Linked DNA regions of Homo sapiens: regions 2, 3 and 4 are each linked to region 1. Evidence: promoter capture Hi-C in human tissues and cell types (Jung and others, 2019). All regions are on one chromosome and are shown on one strand. Each heading gives the region's core, a stretch centred on a gene start or on the middle of the fragment in contact. The rest is flanking DNA. Distances are from core to core; before and after follow the strand shown. Region 1 holds the start of C1QTNF1-AS1 (C1QTNF1 antisense RNA 1). Region 2 overlaps RBFOX3 (RNA binding fox-1 homolog 3). Region 3 overlaps RBFOX3 (RNA binding fox-1 homolog 3). Region 4 overlaps RBFOX3 (RNA binding fox-1 homolog 3).

Region 1 (4,665 bases), core at 1,845-4,344:
GTGTGCCTAAAATCCCAGCTAGTCGGAAGGCTGAGGCAGGAGAATCGCTTGAACCCAGGAGATGGAGATTGCAGTGAGCTGAGATCACGCCACTGCCCTCCAGCCCGGACAACATAGCAAGACTCTGTCTCAAAAAAGAAAAAGAAAAGAAAAGAAAAAGAAAGGAAGGAAGGAAAAGAGAGAGAGAAAGAGAGGAAAGAAAGAAAAAGAAAGAAAGAAGAAAGAAAGAAAGAAAGAAAGAAAGAAAGAAAGAAAGAAAGAAAAAGAAAGAAAGAAAGAAAGAAAGAAAAGAAAGAAAGAAGAAAGAGAGAGAAAGTTTGTAAAGCAGTAATGAGTTTTGAAAATGCAGAATGAAAACATGCAGACCCAAACACACGCACATACAGGCACACACATACACATACACACACACACACACACACACACACAAAACCACAAAGACCCAAAGGCCACCCACCAGGCTGCCAACAGCAATTATCTGCGGTGATGAAAATACAGATGCTTACCATTTTCTTATTTTGGCCTCTCTGTTTCTTTCCCCTGTAACAGTCACGTCCTTTTTCACAGTAAGTACACATTATTTTCCACTAGAAAAATGACAAATAAGCCCCACCCTGGGGACTAAGGGAGCATTTTGTTTATTCCAGGAAACTCGACTAGATGCATAGAAGAGTAGGATGGGGAGAAAAGAGAGCTTGTTATATTGCATCGTTTGAGGCTCAAGCGGAACCACGGGGAATACAAGTTGACCTAGTGCTGAAGTCTCACGCTCTTTTGCTCATTTGTTCAACAGGTGTTTATTGAGTGTCTACTACCTACCCAGCAGGGAGCTGGATTCTTGGGACGAACGGAACAAGATGCCCTTTCCCTTGGGCAGTAGAGTCCCTGGCAGCTATGGTATGGGATGTGTTAGGACCAGGAACAGCACAGGTGGTAGGGAGCCCAGCAGGGTGGCACTTCATCCAGGCTGGAATTAGGCGAGCCAGAGAGAACCCGTTTCCTAGCAGTGAGGGGCTTTGTTCGTCTTTGGCCCTTGCTGTTGAAGGAGGCTGCCTGAGTAGGGCCGGTGGCCTGCAGCCGTGAAACAGAAGGAAACGGAGCCCCGTCCTGCAGCCCATCCTGTGCGTGATGTGCAATGGCCAGCATGTTCCTGGACCCAGGAGTAGCCCAATGTTTATCAGAGATTCCTTCTGACAAAGCCCCGCTACCCCTGAAAAGCCACCACTGAGAGCCAGACTCTGGCCATGGTGCCTTCCCTACACCACTGAGCTTGATCCTTAGAAAGCTTGATCCTTAGAATGCCTAATCCTTAGAATACCTGATCCTTAGAATGCGCAAACAGCCTCAGAGCGATGGAGCCGCTTGCCCCAGGTTCCACAGTGGGGAGGTGCTGGAGCTCAGATTAGACCTAGGTGTGTCCGACAGCAAAGCACATTACACTTCACCCCGAGGGGTGGCCAGAAAGATGCCAGAGAGCATAGGCTCCTCCTCCTCCCAAGCCATGGTGCAGCGACCGTTCCCGCCCACTGGGCTCAGGGTTACGGTGCCCACCAATTTGCTTACTTGTTTATAGGTGGAACCGCTGCAGCAGCCTTTGGCTTCGAGGACTGTATCCAGCAGCTGAGCCCTTGCATTCATCATTCAACAGAGGATTACCGAGTGCCCACTACATGCCAGGTATGGTATGGGGTACCAGGGAAACCTGTAACCATCTTCCTTGATGCAATGTGCTAAGATATCCCTGGTGCCAGCCTGCTAGCATCTTAAAATACACCACCGGAGTTTAATTCCTTTGGATTTAGGCACAGGATCACCAGGAACACCCGCGCGTGCATGCACACACACACACACACACACACACACACCTTAAAATGTGAGGGGCTTGGGCAGTGTGGCCCATCGGATGTGCATTTTTAGGGCACTGCTTTTGTAGGGTGAAGAGACACCAGCATGCTGGCAAGCTCTGAAGAAGGGAGGAAAAGACCCATGTGCTGGGGTACAGATGATTTTTCTCTCCCGACCAGTGCCCTCTAATGGGCACAAGCAGACCTGAGCTCTGAGTTGCAAAGGAATCTAAGTTCACGCACCACACGGGGAGGACCCTCAGGACCATGGGCCTTGCCCTCATTGATATCCTTTCATGGAGGAGGGGGCTCCCCTGAATGCCAGAGGACGCAAGAGACCTGTGGTCACCCCCTAACCCACCCAGATCCTTCCATCTCTCACTTTAGATTCTTTACAAGGAGAATGGGTCTAAGCGTTTTCTGAACACACCTCTGTCCCCAGCTCTGAAGACTGGCCCCAGGAACCTGTGGGCAGAGTCAGGGGGCCCTGCCCGCCTTCTGACCTACATCTGCCTCGAACCCACCCAGGGCTGGCAGCTTTCCCAGCAGCTTCCCTGCTCCCCAGGGCAGAGGGTGGCTGTTATCCAGATGTCTTGCTGAGGGGGATGGGTACAACCCAAAGCATAGGGTTTGGGGCATTCCACCAAGTGTGGCTTTAGCCGTGGCCAAGAACAACATTTGACCCAGCACAGGGCACCAAGAACTTGACTTCCCCATGCCCCGCCTGCCTGTCTGCCTCTTCTCCTCCTCCCCTCGACTCCTGCCTCCCTGCCTGCCGTCTCCTGCTCTACTCTGTCTCGTGTCAAGGAAAATTCCTACAGGAGCCAGGGAGATGGGCAGACACCGGCCCGGCCACAGCCGTCCCGACGGCCGTCCTGGACAGGATGGGGGCCCGGGGAGGGGCCTGCAGTCTGTGCCAGCCCCATCTGAAGCTGGAGAACGGCTTAGATCCAGGGGGCCTCAGAGGCAAGATAGCAGTGCCCTGGTGTACAGTGGGGACTGTGGGGGTCCCCGTGCCCCTGCTGGAGACCATCCCCCTTTGAACCACATTCAGATGCCAAGCCCAGCTCTGGAAATCAAATGTAGGCAAGAACAGGCAGCTGGAGGGGTGCTGATTTGCCAAGAGCCACTCATATCACCCCAGCACAAGTGTCACACAGCCGTGACCTTGACAAGGACCCAGAGATAAAGATCCTTCCCACATGGCTCCGAAGCCCCTCCCTTCCTGCTCACACCGCATGCCTCTCCCAGAGAACTAGAGGCTGCAGCGGCAGCAGTTGGAGCATCTCACTGCGGGGCTCGGGAAGGAGGAAAGGAGTGAGCATGTCCTGCTCCTGCATGTCCCTGCTTAAGCTCAGGACTGGCCCTTCCAGGCCAAGGACCCCAGCATAGACCCCAGGACAGGGCCCCAAGGATCCCTGGCTCATGAGAGCGGCTTGCTGGGCTGCCCCAAGAGAGCCTGAAGGAAACACATTGTTGAGCTGAGCTGACGTCGCTGTTTCTTCCAGACTGCTCTCTAAAGTGGGCAGGTGAGTTCTTGCCCTGTATGAAGGGGTCAGGGAGATGGCAGGGTCCTGTCCAGAGAGCTGCCTTGTGCCATTTGACACCAGCAGGCCAATTTCAGCAGGTTAACAGGGGAAATGGCAACCTGTGGCCCATGAGGGAGTGCCCCCACTTGAACATCTCTAGAGGCTACTGATTGTCAGGCAGAGGTGGGATCGTCCAGGGGATGGTGTAACCTGCTACTTCTTCCTGCCCTTCCTGGTGTCCGTCACCCCCACCCCTTCCCTAAGGTTCTGGAGCCTCAGCCACAGCCCCCCCCCGCCCAGGAACAGGGACCCCTGAGGACAAGACACAAATGGGAAGCTCCAGTCCCTGCGCACAACTGTATCTATGAAATTCTTTTCATCTTTGTTTTGATGAGCAAAGTTCAATGCCAGAATATTTGGTTTATGAGTCATGCTAATTACAGCTGGGGGGAGGCACCAGGAAGAAGAACAGAAAGGAGCATGTTCCAAAAACACTCTGTTGTCCTGGTTGCCCTGAAAAGGGGGGTCACTTCCTAGGAACAAGGAGGGAACCCATGGCCTTCCTGGGACAGCTTGGGCTTTCTCTGCTCCTACTTGGGAGGACGTCCCTCGCCAGCTGGCTGCACCTGCCTGGGAGGGGCAGTGGTGTCCTGTAGCCGCACAGCGCCCACCTAGGGCTTCCTGCACCATGCTTCCTGCCTCCCTGAATGAGCTCACTGGGGACACCACCCTTGGCAACACAAGAGGAGGAGAGGGAGGCGGGAGGAGAAGTAGAGAGTCCCTGGGTAGCGGACCTGTGTCCTTCCTGCCCCTGGGCATTCTCTGTTAGCAGCTGGGAGAGAGAAGTTCCCAGCATCAGCTTGGCGAGCTGAGTGCCATGTTCCCAACACCAGATAGGAAGGTTAAAAGTATACGCCCCGGAGGCCAGGCGCGGTGGCTCACCCCTGTAATCCCAGCACTTTGGAAGGTTGAAGCGGGTGGATCACTTGAGGTCAAGAGTTTGAGACCAGCCTGACCAACAGGGTGAAACCCAGTCTCTACTAAAAATACAAAATTAGCCAGGCGTGGTGGTACACACCTCTAATCCAGCTACTTGGGAGGCTGAGGCAGGAGAATCGCTTGAACCTGGGAGGTGGAGGTTGCAGTGAGCCGAGATTTGGCCTTGCACTCCAGCCTGGATGACAAAAGCGAAACTCTGTCTCAAAAAAAAAAAGAAGCATATGACGCACTTGGGATAAAGACACAGATTGGAGTCTTGAGTCCTCCATCCCTGTCTCTGAGACCTCAAGCAA
Region 2 (4,616 bases), core at 76-2,575, 290 kb before region 1:
AGACCGTTGCTCAACTGCATTGCTGAGAGGGGGAGCCATATGGTGTAAGGGGTGGTGGCTATGAAGATAAAGTGGGGAGATTTGCTGCTGTTTGTATTTCCCAGACCTCCCCAGCTCCTCTGCCCCCAGCAGTTTCATCTCCTGGGTTTTGGCTCAGCAGCATCCTCCGTGCTGGAGTTTTGGGTGAAGCACACAGACCTCCTTCTCCTCTTCCCTCCTTGCTGGACTTCTTGGCTGCTGGCTGAGCAAACACCACCCGGAGCATCCAGATCTTCAGGCCCAAAATGCTCCTGTTCCACTCATGATAGGAATCAGCCATCACCATGGCAAGGGCTCCGGCTGACACCTCCCCAGTTGTAAGCTCTGTCTACTCAGCAACTTTGTCAGCAGCAGCCAGGCAGTTTAGGAGATGAGGCCTGAGTAACAAGGGGCTGGAGGTTTTTCCCAATCCACAGACAGTTTTTTTAAAGGGGGTAAAGACATTTCTAGAAATGATGAAGCGGCAAGCTTAACTTCCATTCCTAGAAAAATAATCATGAAACCGACAACTCAAGATAGGGAAGTTAGCATGTTACTTGAGAATTGTCCTGCTCACATAAAGAACAAGATTTGCCAGCCAGATCGAATCTCTTTGCCTGCCGAGTGATGGCCCAGGTAGACAAGGTGGCACCCTTAGGTTCACCATGGCCTCATCGAACATTGCAACTTTTTTTTTTTTAAGATTGTGATTCTTACATAACAAGTGCCTAAAGTACCTACTAGTTACCTGGAAAGCAGCTAGTTAATTAGTGGAAGCCAGAGTTTAGGGATTCCTTGCCAATTTGCAGACAATTTCAAGTCTGTGTTTGTCCCCTTTGAGTTTGAGACCACGTCCAGGGGAGAAACATCCCCTTCACTAGAAGGCCCTGCCACGGGCATCGGTGCTGCTGCCAGTGCCTGCTCAGGACTCAATTGCCAGCAGAACCCTCCAGGGTGGACCCAAACCACCAGCCTCTGTGTGGAAGCCAGATGTGCTCACCCTGAGCCCCACAGGTGAACCCTGGTGAGGCTGAACCCGTGGGGGCTTCACCAGCTCAAATCTGCGTCTTTGTTCTGAGGTCCGTGTGGGTCTGAGCCAAGGCCATTGGCCTGACTGCAGAATCAATAGCAACTTCCTTATGGCCGTTCTGTTTGAAAAGAAACATCTAAAATTTGATGTATTGGGTCTGGTTTGGTGGAAAGAGTGCAGACTTTGGAATACGAATGAACTGGGTCTGCAATTTCAGCCGGGCCATATGCTGACTGTGTGGCCTTGAGAAAGTGGCAATTGGAGCCTGCACCTCTTTGTCTGAATGAGGGGGGTGGCCGTGGGGGAGATGGGAGGAGTGTTCCATGAGGGAGCATATGGGAAATGCCAGCTCCTTGTCGGTCTTCATGGAGGGTCAGCTCCTTTCTTTGAAGGATGTGTATGTGCACGTGTCCGTGCACATCTGTGTGTGTGCGTGCACATGCACATTTGCGGGTGAGTGTGCATATCTTGTGTGCAGGCATATGTGCACCTGTGTGTGTTTAGCCTGGGTAATCAGGCAGTTGGAAGCTAGGGCTGCCAAATAAAAACACAGGGTGACTGGTTAAATGTGAATATCAGATAAGCAATGAAAAATTAATATAAGTACTTCCCAAATATTGCATGGTATGAACTTATACTAAAACAATGAAAACATTATCTGTTATCTGAAATTTCTAATTTAACTGCATATCCAGGGGTTTTATTTCCTAAATGTGGAAACTGTCACTGGAATGAGGTTTGCTATTTCGGCTGTAAGATTAGGCCCACAAAAGCAGATGTGCAGGGGTCTGGGGCCGTGGTGGCCTTGTGGGGAGGGGCTCTGGGAGGAAGGACACAGGCTGTGTGGCCCAGGCTCCTCATTTTGCTCAAGACCTCCCTTCCCTTTCTCACGTTTGGAGCTCCTTCCATTGCATTGAGCAGAGCGACGAGCTGCCCACATCCTGAGTAACAGTCCCTGGCTGGGAGCAGAGGTGGGAGCCATCGCCCCTGCCCAAGGAGGGCTGCCCACAACTCAGGTGGGCCCTGAGTCTGTACTGAGCTGGACAGCACCGACCACAGCCTGCTGGCCTGGCCCCATCTACATGCTGGCCTGGGCTTGGGGTGGTGTTCTCTGGAAACTTCTCTGTTTGTTTCATGGGTGACGTTCGATCTTCCCGAAACAGGATCCTGCAGAGTTCAGAGCACCTGCCAGACAGTCACAAAGCCACTGCATGGCCTCGTCCTCAGCCCCAGCCCCTCCACCCTCCACCATCACCAGCCACCCCTTCTCCTCTTCCGCGCAGCCTCTCCCGCCCTCTCCAATTTTTACTTGGCAAATTATACCCTGGTGCTCCCAGCCTGCTCAGTGGGTGCTGTCGAGCCTTGGCAGATTCCAGTGCCAGCAGCAGGGGGCACAGATACTTGCAAAGGGGAACTAATAGGGAATGAAATAGCTTTCCTCCCCCAAAGACCCCTCCCAGAGCTGCTGGCGGACCCACCCCTTGCGGAGTGAATTGTTTCCAATCCAATCTCGTGTTTATTGAAGTTTCCTCCAGGGTTAGCTCGGGAGGCCTCTCCCCAGCCCCTTCCGCGTGGCCTTATTTACCAGAATCCCCTCGGCGCGCCATTTAAGCGTCTCCATTAACATTTCCTGCATCTTGCTCATTGCAAGCAAGGCCCTCAGAGACCCCCAGGGTGGCGGCACGGGCGGCAGCCCGCAGAAACGCCAGGCTTATTTTAATTGGTTTGAAACTGTCGCTGTCGACCACAGAGGGGTCCCTTTCCTTGAGTAATGACCTGGAATTTGATCACGTGGCTTTTATGAGCTTGTAACACTGAAAGTGTAACCGTGTGAGATCAAAGCAAGGACCAGGGTGCACATCTGTCTGGCCGCAGTGGCCAGCAAGTGTGAAGGCGCGGCCTGGGAGACACCGCTCTTCCCCTACCCCTGCGGGTCCCATCTGTCGGGGGATGGGAGAGGTGGCTCTTTTCACGTCCCCTCTGACTTCCTTGTCGGCCTGCAGATGGTGGTGTGAGAAGAGGGAAAAGCCGCCTCTGCATCCAGCACTTTCTGGCCTCCTTCTCGGTATGGAGAATGCTTTGCTCAGAAGACCAGGGTCTGGGTCCCCAGAGAGAAGGATGCAGGGGAGCCTACCTCCTGGAGACATGGATGGTCTAGAGTCTGGAGGCCATCACTAGGGATGAAATGGTTTTACTTCCTCTTGGGAAGTGGCTCCCTCCGGAATCACTCCATCGTGTACGTCATCCATTTACTTGGTCGTCAGGCCACCAGCCGGTGAGATTCTACAGAGCCACTAATCATAGAAAACACTGTGCTTTGACACCAGCTTTGTGTCACGCATGTATAATCAGGGTCTCTCACTCCTGCAGCGGGCCATCAATCTAACCATGCTCGTCTCAAAAAATTTTTGGAGAATTTTTATAATTAAGGTAAAAGATAAATATCTATCCTCCTCTACCTGCAATTAACAATAACTAACACTTTGTTCTCTTGCATTAGTCTTAAAAAAAAAAAAAAAAGGAAGGATCACAGACAAAGTCCAAGTCCCCTCCAGCACACCCAGCCCCGTTCCCCTCCCCTACACCCAGAGGCCGCTCTGAGCATCGATTTGGCATCTATTATTTCTGTCCCTTGAGAAAAACATTTATACACACATGTAAGCGTGGACCAGAGCTCACACTGTTTTATGTCTTCTTCAAATGCACATGCATGGCCTCTTCCTGCAACTCACCTCTTTGACTGAACATGGTTTCTGCAGCTCTGGTGTGTTTCTGATACGTTCCTTTTATCTACTGTGGAGAATCTGACTTAGAAACCTGCCCCATTTTCTTTGTCCACTCTTTCATTCATGAAACTCCCAGTGGTTTGCAAAGTGCAGCTATTTCAGAGAATGCCGAGTGAGAGTCTTGGTGGCTGTCTCCTGTCTCAGGCGTGGACCTGGCTGTGAGTGGCCGATCTTGTCCAGGTCCTGCGAGGCCATCTGCACCTGCCTATCCCACCAGCTCCGTATGCGATCTCAGTCTCCTCCCAGCATCACTGATGCTGAGGCCGATCGTTCTCACTGTGCCCACGAGAGAGCCCAGCTCTGGTGTGTTGTGTTTGTTGGAGCTGCCTGACTGCCATGCCTCTCTCCTCTGCTTCTCAGCAGGTTTGGGGGTCCTGCACACTCCCAGGGAGCCATGGTTACCCCAGCTCCTACTTTGTCACTCGGGAAAGCAGCCTGCACCTCAGAAAGATTTAGAGCAAAACGTAAAGCCCTTTTAGTAAAAAAACAACAAGAGTGACCCATTCAGAAACTTTTGGGCTTTCTTGTTAGACCCCATTGTCTGTAGCCCCCTCCATGAATGATCATGAGCCTGTGACTGAAACACCATGTGGGGGCTGTGACCACTCGCTGCCCTCTGAGGCCACCTGGCTACCTGAGCCCCCAGGCCAGTTTGCAGGACCCTCCCAGCAGTTGCGGGCAAGAGCCGGACATGCAAGTGAGGATGAACAGCCTCCCTCTTTTCAGAGGCTGAAGGTATTTGGTGCAGCCCCACAGTAGCTCCTGGAGGTGGGAGGACAAGC
Region 3 (4,606 bases), core at 738-3,237, 330 kb before region 1:
TGGAGCCCCATCCTATGGTCCTGCCTTAGTCGGGGTGGAGAGGTGGGTGATTTTCTCTTCTCTTCCAAGGAGTGTCTGCTAAATTGTTCAAATGTGATTGGCCTGTCTGGGTGCAGAGATTAGGAGCCAGCGGGGAGGCAGGTGCCGTGCCCTTCCTTCGAAGGCTATGCCTCACCTTCAGCAAAATATGCTCTTTGGAATTTGTGGGGGAGGATGTGGAGAGTAGCTTGCTAGATAAAATAAAGGCTGCTCAGTTAAATCTGAATTTCAGATTAACAATGAATAGTGTTTAGTGTAAATATGTTCCATGCCATATTTGAGATAGACTAGTACTACAAATTATTTGTTGTTTATCTGAAACTCAAATTAAGCTGCATATCCTGTATTTTTCTTTGCTAACACTGGCAGCCCTGGGGAGGGGCGGGGTAGGCGCTGCAGTCAGCCAAGCCCCTCAGCTCTTGCCCTGAGCCTGTGGGGTCATTAAGAGGTGGATTAGGGATACGTTTAAATCCGTCTAACCCATTTGAATCTTACTTCCTCACTCATAAAATACAGTTGTAGAGAGGATTACAGGATGTGTTGATGGATACACCTGGCCTGGTGCAAACCCACCCATGGAAGTTTCCAGTGCTCTGTGCCTCCCTGGGCTGGGTGTGGGGCAGGGGGCAGCTTCCCTGTGCCACTCGTGGTGTCTGCTCTGCGCGAGCCCTCTGGGGGCACTTGGGAAAAGAGGGAAGGATACTTTGTTCTGGTTCCCAAGTGGCTCTCGAGCAATTGGCAGGAAGGTAGAGCTGATACACATGAGAAACCCAGGGATCCTGATGGCGAAATGGAATGGCCACACCCTGTGTTGGAAACACTGCCTGTGACTATAACTCAGAAAAGAGAGAGAACCAGGCCGAGCACGGAGGCTCACACCTGTAATCCCAGCACTTTGGGAGGCCAAGACAGGCAGATCACCTGAGGTCAGGAGTTCGAGACCAGCCTGGCCAACATGGTGAAACCCCTTCTCTACTAAAAATACAAAAATTAGCCAGGCGTGATGGTGCACACCTGTAATCCCAGCTACTAGGTTGACTGAGGCAATGGAATTGCTTGAACCCGGGAGGTAGAGGTTGCAGCAAGCCGAGATCATGCCACTGCACTCCAGCCTGAGTGACAGGGCAGAACTCCATTTCAAAAAAGAGAAAAAGAAAGAAAAGAAAAATGAGAGGAAGTGTAGACTTGAGGGGTTTCATGGAGGAGGTGGGATTTTGCCTGAGTCAGAAGGGAGGGCAGTGTGCCGATGGTGGGGTCTCCCCACGGCGTGAGCATCCTCGCCAGTGCTGGGGAGGGGAAGACGGCTCTAGCTCACTACCTTCCCCCTTGTGCCTGTTGTTAGGTCCCAGAGGGATGAAAAATAGCTTCTTTGGGGCCAGGCACACTGGTCACACCTGTAATCCCAGCACTTTGGGAGGCCAAGGCAGGAGGATCTCTTGAATCCAGGTGTTTGAGACCAGCTTGGGCAACATAGGTGGACCCTGTCTCTACAAAAAATATAAAAATTAGCTAGGCTGGTGGTGTGTGCCTGTGGTCCCAGCCACTTGGGAGGCTGAGACAGGAGGGTTGCTTGAGCCCAGGAGCCCAGGGTTATGATGAGCTATGAATGTGCCACTGTACTCCAGTGACAGAGCAAGATGCTGTCAATAATAATAATATATAATAATAATAATAATAGCTTGTTTGGGATCTGGTAAGTGGAAGTTACTTAAATACTAAAGTAAAAAAAAAACTTCAATTTACTGATTTTTTAAAAAAATGAACTTAATTGGTAAACATTTGTATTGACTTGGAAAGCAGTAAATAAAAAAAAAACACCCTTGAGGTAACAAAATATTTCTCTGTCTTTTTACAAATTCAACAAACGCACTTCATTCTTCACCACCCCCCTATACCGCCCCCCTGCGCTTTAAACTCTTGCCTTTTCATTTAGCATGAGGAGTGAAGTCGTCTTTCAGAGTTTGTTTTTTGTTTGTTTGTTTGTTTTGAGACAGAGTTTTGCTCTGTCGCCCAGGCTGGAGTGCAGTGGTGCAATCTCGGCTCACTGCAACCTCCACCTCCTGGGTTCAAGTGATCCTCCTGCCTCAGCCTCCCAAGTAGCTGGGACTACAGGCGTGCGCCACCACACCCAGCTAATTTTTTTTATATTTTTAATAGAGACAGGGTTTCACCATGTTGACCAGGCAAGTCTCAAGCTCCTGACCTCAGGTGATTCACCTGCCTTGGCCTCCCAAAGTACTGGGATTACAGGCGTGAACCACAGCTCCCAGCCTCTTTCAGAGTTTTTTAAACATTGGAATGAAGCTTTACTTTTGCTCCTGGCTAGTGTTTGTTTTGTTTCGTTTTTGGGCAGCTTACAAGTGGCGCTCTTTCTGCTTAAAGGCGAGTGTGCTCATGTGCAAGCACAGACACTCTACATGTGCGTACAGCCTGCTTGTGTTTGCGTTTTAGGATGTGTGTGCAAGAGCAGCAGCCACAGCACCCGGGGAGGCCGAGTTTGTCACCAGCGGGTGTGGGCGTGTCTGGGGCCCCCGTGGGGCTAGGACAGAGCAGGAATGCCACATGGAGGGCACCGGCTCCCCAGTTGTCACTGCCGAGTCTCTGTTGTGAGTGCTCAGGGGGACACTTTAGGACATAGCTTCTCAAGCAAGAGGTGGGTAGCCAAGTGTCCCATCTCAGTGCCACTGGGAGGCTCAGCCCGACAGGAGCTGGCTGAGGGGGACGGAGTTGCAGCAGGGGCAGTGGCTGGCCCAGGCAGGCCCGGCTGCACTTTTGACACCTTTGTAACTGCAAGGTGAAAACTGACTTTTCATGATTCTTCCCAACAAATTCTTACCTTTGGTCTCTCTCTGGACATATTTTAGGAAAGAAATTATTTCCCAAATAGTTATTCACACCTATCACTAAATTATGTCCTTCTCTGATGGCATAAAAAAAAAAATCAAAACTGGCTGGGCACAGTGGCTCATGCCTGTAATCCTAGCACTTTGGGAGGCCAAGGTGGGTGGGTCACCTGAGGTCAGGAGTTCAAGACCAGCCTGGCCAACATGGTGAAACCCTGCCTCTAATAAAAATACAAAAATTAGCTGGACATGGTGTCAGGCACCTGTAATCCCAGCTACCTGGGAGGCTGAGGCAGGAGAATCGCTTGAACCTGGGAGGTGGAGCTTGCAGTAAGCCAAGATTGTGCCACAGCACTCTAGCCTGGGTGACAGAGTGAGACTCCTCCTCAAAAAAAAAAAAAAAAAAAAAAAAAAAAAAAAAAAAAACTTCCCTGTTTTAAAAGTGAAAAAGTACGTGCCTCACGGCAGAGGTACCTTGGCATTGCCCAGGTGGGATCAAGTGCCTCCTCTCTCCCCCACCCCGTCTGCAGGAGGGTCTGCAAGTATGTCCTGCTCCTGGGAGAACATGCCTCTCCAAGTTTCACAAGCAGGAACATTCAGGCAGCAGGCAGGACCGACGTCAGCTCAAGTTCTTGCCAAAAGTCAAGAGCCAAGAACACTTGAGCTTAGACTTCAGTTGGGGTGAACGCCCCAAAGCACATCCCCACATTCATGCTCTAATTCAGGAGAGGGGAAAGAGTTTATACAGACGCAGTGATATTTGGAGTTAGGAGTGAGCCAGATGTCAGACTATGGAAATTACCTAAGTCACATATTACATAAGGATGTCAAACATTTAGCAGAGCTGGAATTTTCCTTGCACTTACAAGAAACATAATTTCTAAAAAGCAGTTCGGCCAGGCACGGTGGTTCACGTCTGTAATTCTAGCACTTTGGGAAGCTAAGGCAGGTAGATCACCTGAGGTCAGGAGTTCAAGACCAGCCTGGCCAACATGGTGAAATCCCATCTCTACTAAAAATTAAAACATTAGCTGAGCATGATGGTGTGAGCCTGTTATCCCAGCTACTAGGAAGGCTGAGGCAGGAGAATTGCTTGAACCTGGGAGGTGGAGGTTGCAGTGAGCTGAGATCAAACCACTGTACTCCAGCCTGGGCAACAGAGCAAGACTCCGTTTCGGAAAAAAAAAAAAGCAATTAATTCACAGGCTTGGGGTATATTCAGCTTTTAGTTTCTAACATGCGTTGAACTCAGGGGTTCAGGAGCAGGTGGCTTCCCAGGCAGCAGGACCTGGAGAGGCTGGAGGGGAGCTGCCTCTGCCACCATCGCCCGGGGCCACTTGGCTTGGGTACAAGCATTGGAAACGGGGGCGGGTATCCCACGCAGAGAGGAAATGCTTGCCTGGCAAAGTCAATGGAGTTGTGCCCCAGTGGCTGAAAACAGAAGTCAGCCTGCTCTGCAAACAACACGTCTCCCCAGAGCCCTCGATACGTTCTGCAGGCTTCACATGCTTGTTCAGAGCCAAAGCCTTGATGCCTTTCCTCGGAAGAACTTTCTTCTTAGGGAGAGTCAGCTCTGAACAGGGACCCCCGACCCCACAAGTGCCGAACCCCGTGTTAAATGTTAAATGTGTTAAGTTGATTACACGGTCATGTTTTAAACCTCTTGGAAGTAGGTGAGAAAGTGGAATCCGAGAGTCAGAATGATCCCGTGTGGGGCTATAAAG
Region 4 (4,437 bases), core at 223-2,722, 260 kb before region 1:
AGGAAGGAAGGAAGGAAGGAAGGAAGGAAGGAAGGAAGGAAGGAAGGGGTGGAGGGGAGGGAAGGGAAAGGAAAGGGAGGGGAGGGAGGGGGAGGGGAGGGAGGCAGGGAAGGAAGGGAGGGAGGCAGGGAAGGAAAGAAGGAAGGAAGGAAGCAAAGATCGGTCTTGATGTGAGCAGCAGATGAGTAACTTGGAACATTTTTGTTGGCCCCATGTGGGCTTGAGCAGGTCACTTTACCCTCTAAATTCTCAGTTTTCTTACCTGTTAAACGGAGATAATGAGATGTGCTCTGTTGACCATCTAGGTCTGATGGAAGGGTCAAATGAGGCCATACTTTTAAGTGGCTTTGAAAAACTATGAAATATAATATACATATGAGGCATTACTAACAGTGGCACTGTAAAATAGAAGCAGTTCTCAGACTTTGGTCTGTGATGTTCCAGCCAAGCAAACTCTTCAGGGGCCTCTTTTCAAGGGGGATGGAAGGTGGGGGCAGGTATAAAAACCCCATAAAACCAAAGCAAAACCTCCAGGGAGGAATTGTCTTTTATACCAACTCCCAAAACAAAGGCCAAATTCCAAAACGAAGTCTGTTTGCTTCTTACTTTCCTAATATAAAGGGAATGGGTGATTTTTTCCCCCAAATGCAGTTTCATGTTGGTGAAATCAGAATACAACAGTAGGGTCTCTAGCGGCAGAATTGAGCGGAGGAAAGAAAGCAAAAGGATCTCTTCTAAGCATTTGGCATACTGCTGTTCCCTCATTACACAGCGAAAGCAGCCCATGCTGTCCTTCGCAGCATCAAACACTTCTAAGGGCAGTGCACTGGGTCTGCATGTATGTGTGTGTGTGTGTGCGTGTGTGTGTGTGTGCATGTGTGTGTGTGTGTGTACAGTGCCAACTGTAAGTGTGAGTGTAAACATGTTCCATTATAGACTAACATTTTAATTCCTTTTTTCAACCAGTATTCATTGAGAACCTTCCATGTGCCGGGGACATGCTAGTGACTGGTGCCACAGTCCCCTTGTCCCCTGGTTGCTCTTGGTTAGTGGGGAGACAGCACTGGTCCCCTGGTTGCTCTTGGTTAGTGGGGAGACAAGGAAGGCACAATAGAATAAATTCTATACTGGAGGCATGCGGGGTCCTGACACTCGTGGGGTCTGTGAAGATGCACACGAGTGGGATTTTCTCTGCCCTTCCTTACCCTGGTTTTGCTCTTAGTCCTCACCTGAAGCTGTTCTTCAGGTCCTGTGAAGTGTCCTGGCACCAGGCATCTCCTGGCTTCCTGTGGTTTTCAGGCAACCCCTCTATTACCACAATATGATTACTGGAAGATTCATAGTAATTCAGAGCAACCCCAAAATACTGATCACCAGAGAAAGCCCTGGAATGAGGGGTGGGGTAAATTGGTGAGAGAGCTCCGTGGCTGGCTTTGGGGGTCCTAAGCTACAGCATCTAAGTAGGGGTGGAGGCTGGCTGTAGTTAAACCCATGCCTCCAACCCAGGATTGAGACTTGGGCGTTGTGAAATTCAAGGTTCAGCTCCGTGGTGAAGCTTTTGTGTTGGAATTAGCTAAATCATGTGGCGCCCTAGTTTCTCATAGCCAACCTGCAAAGGTAGTTCCCTTGCTTGCTCCTGAACAGAGGGGAACCACATGAGGTCATCTAGAAAGGCTCCAAGAGTTGCCAGGGGAGAGGGGCTGTGTACTCTCTGTGTTCTGTGAACGCAGGGGCTCTTCCACACTGCTGCCTGTCCCTGAGAACAGAGATCAAGGCAGACTTCAGAGAAAACTCCCTGTTTGGTCCTGCCTCCCTGGGCAGTGAGCCATTCCGGCTCTGCAGACCCTGTTACTGATGCAATAAGGGACTGTGAGGCTCAAGGGGTGGATGCATGACACAGGGTTCTGAGTGTGCCCTCAGCCCCATTCTTCCTGCCCAGGGGAGGAGCATCCCTGACCAAGAGCTTTTGCAAGACTTCAATAAATCCCCACACTTGAAGCCGAGGGCTGCAGATTCCTACTGTATTTAATGTCAGCTCCATGCAGACCAGCCAACTGAACACAGCCTCATAGCAACTTTCTTATCTCTCACACTGTAACCTAGCTGATGGAGCTACCCCAGAATCCAAAATGTGGCACCGCAGAGCGAGCTCTCGCTCTTTTCCCCACACCCAGGGCACATCTGAGAGAGAAAATAACCTCACAAAGAATGCTCCATTGATCCTATGGTTTAATGCCCTGGCCATCAGAGTTGACATTTATGCTATTAATTTTAAAACATGTCATTTCTTCTCTATAAACTTTGACTCATTTTTGACCCACTAAATAACTTTCTTCCTCAACTGCAGGCTGGCATTTTATCATGGTCTTTCTTTCCTCCAGCCCCCAACACCACACCTTTCATTTGCCTTTCCTCTCCCAAAGTCCCAGGAGAGGGGTGGGAAGCACTGGGAGAGGTTAGGCAAGCTAATCCTTCCAGAAAGGCAGAGAGCCACGCAGGCTGAGCTGAGCTGAGCTGCCTGCTGCAGCTGCCCCTCGCCCCAGCAGATTCCAATCCAAGCACACAGCTATTTCTGGGAGAACGCAGCCAGGGTGTCAAGGGCAGAGTGGCCAGGGCTGAGGGCATGGAAGAATTGATTTTGTGTGTAAGGTAGAGCCTCTCCAGCCACCAGTCAGCAAACCCAGAGGAGAAGCCTCTGGAGGCTCGATGAGATGTATGTAACTATGCCTGTCCGTCTGCCTTGTCAGAAATGATTGCTTCTCTGATTTTGGTAAACATTCATCCTAAATATCATTTATTTCCCTCGGGCCTGACCTCAGAAGGCCCTTAGCAAGGGTCACGTGGGTCAACCTCAGACTCCATTTGCTAACTGCTAGCTCTCAGAGCCCTTCCCTTGGCTATACCGAGAAGGGACGTGGCAACGGCAGGCATGTGTTGAACCACTTCCCAGGCACCAGGCATGAGGCGAAGAGCCACACATAGGCTGTGCTTTCGGGTCCTCATGGGAAGCCCATGACACCGTCACAGCATATGGAAAATCACGAATCTCTACTTTCCAGATGGGGAAAATGAGGCCCTTAGAGGCTCGATGGCTTACCCGGGCCCACACAGCTAGCAAGGACTCCAACCCAGCTGGCTCACCCCAGAGCCTGCATTCCTAGCCACGAGCCATCCTGCCTCTCATTCCTTCCTTCCCTTTTCCTTTGCCATCTTCATGGGCCTCCCAAGAGGCCTCCTTCACAAGGCTCTATGATGCCTCCTCCAGCTTGAGAAGGTTCCCCTTCCAGACATGTGTGTCTCACACTGGTATGTGAGGACCCCCCTACAGCATGTGCTTGTCTCCCACCACCTGCCTGCCCTCCAAGGAGCTTCCAGTGCCTGAAAAACTTCTGCTCACCCCTTCAGACCCCCTGGGCATCTTGCTTCTCCTCCACCTTCTGTCTGAACCCTCTGGGAACTCACCTGTTGGAGGTGTGTCTGTTTGGAGGCAAGGGCCTGTTTCCCTTTCATCCATTTTAGGGGTAGGGTTGGAGCAGTCCCTGGCCACCCAGTGTTATTAGTTATAGCCCAGTGTTATTAGTTATTTTTAGCAATCAATGTTATTGATGTCATGTTCACTACAGAAAGCCACCAGAGAGCTGTTCTTCCAACTCATTACATTTAGAGTTGAACTATCCCCTTTTTATATAAATCCTGACACATAAAGATAAAATACGCCACTTTCTGGGGGAAGCTCTAAACCAGAGGCCAGGAGCTGGGAGGCAGCTTTGAGTGCAGGAAGCAGCTTTAAAGATGATGCCAAAGGGGGAAAGCCCCAAAGGGCTGTCCCCTGAGCCAGGAAGTAGGACCAGAGAGTTAACATCGTGTCTGGAAAAAGCACAGTCCCTGGGCTGTCACCAACACAAAAGGAAGAAGTCAGGGGAAGCTGTGGCTTAAACAGAAAAGACAGATAATTTCTGGGGACCTCAGCTCTGAAGTCAGGGGCAAAGGCCAGTCAAGGGCTTGATGGGGACTGGGTACTGGGTTCCTTCTGTGGCTGCTGATGGCTGGCGAGGCTGCCGGGTCCCAGTGCTCACTGGTCTACAAAGCTGGTCCTGGGTGTCGACACTAAGGGCCGGGGCAGAAACAGGCCTGAGTTTTGGAGAATACTCTAACCTTCCCCATCTCTCTGGCTTGAAGGGACTGAAGCTTGGGCCAGCCACAGGGCTCCAGATGGCTCTTGCCACACCTAACCCGCCGACTCGGGCCTGAGACTACGACGTGGGCAGAGGCTGTGCGGAACGTATTGGAGAGGCCTGGTGTCCCTGGCTCTGCATAGGGGCGTGTCTTTTGGGATCTGGGGAGCAGCAGAAGGTTAGAGATGACAGGTTCTGGTGAGGTCACTTTCCAAATGTGATAATGACAGGAGGACAGCTGTGAGTGACTCCCCCCAGCTGT

Evidence for each region. The method cuts DNA at HindIII sites, captures the fragments that hold promoters and counts their contacts. A contact is called where the count stands out against the background at its distance.
Region 2: a contact is called between a fragment that was not itself captured here and the fragment with the promoter of C1QTNF1-AS1 in region 1, in 2 of the 25 tissues and cell types used here (mesendoderm cells and thymus).
Region 3: a contact is called between a fragment that was not itself captured here and the fragment with the promoter of C1QTNF1-AS1 in region 1, in 1 of the 25 tissues and cell types used here (dorsolateral prefrontal cortex).
Region 4: a fragment that was not itself captured here is called in contact with the fragment with the promoter of C1QTNF1-AS1 in region 1 in 2 of the 25 tissues and cell types used here (liver and lymphoblastoid cells).

The regions. Positions count from the first base shown.
Region 1 is chr17:79,026,084-79,030,748 of GRCh38, reverse strand. C1QTNF1-AS1 (C1QTNF1 antisense RNA 1) reads left to right here and starts at 3,094. Exons shown (of 3, transcript NR_040019.1): 1 at 3,094-3,373. The region is part of intron 1 of C1QTNF1 (C1q and TNF related 1); the gene reads right to left. The HindIII fragment of the contact is 4,721 bases long and covers 1-3,116 here.
Region 2 is chr17:79,313,859-79,318,474 of GRCh38, reverse strand. The region is part of intron 2 of RBFOX3 (RNA binding fox-1 homolog 3); the gene reads left to right. Among named protein-coding and RNA genes, the nearest start is that of ENGASE, 240 kb to the right of the region's middle. The HindIII fragment of the contact is 6,078 bases long and covers 1-4,364 here.
Region 3 is chr17:79,355,051-79,359,656 of GRCh38, reverse strand. The region is part of intron 2 of RBFOX3 (RNA binding fox-1 homolog 3); the gene reads left to right. Among named protein-coding and RNA genes, the nearest start is that of RBFOX3, 250 kb to the left of the region's middle. The HindIII fragment of the contact is 4,584 bases long and covers 1-4,279 here.
Region 4 is chr17:79,289,021-79,293,457 of GRCh38, reverse strand. The region is part of intron 3 of RBFOX3 (RNA binding fox-1 homolog 3); the gene reads left to right. Among named protein-coding and RNA genes, the nearest start is that of ENGASE, 220 kb to the right of the region's middle. The HindIII fragment of the contact is 8,478 bases long and covers 1-4,437 here.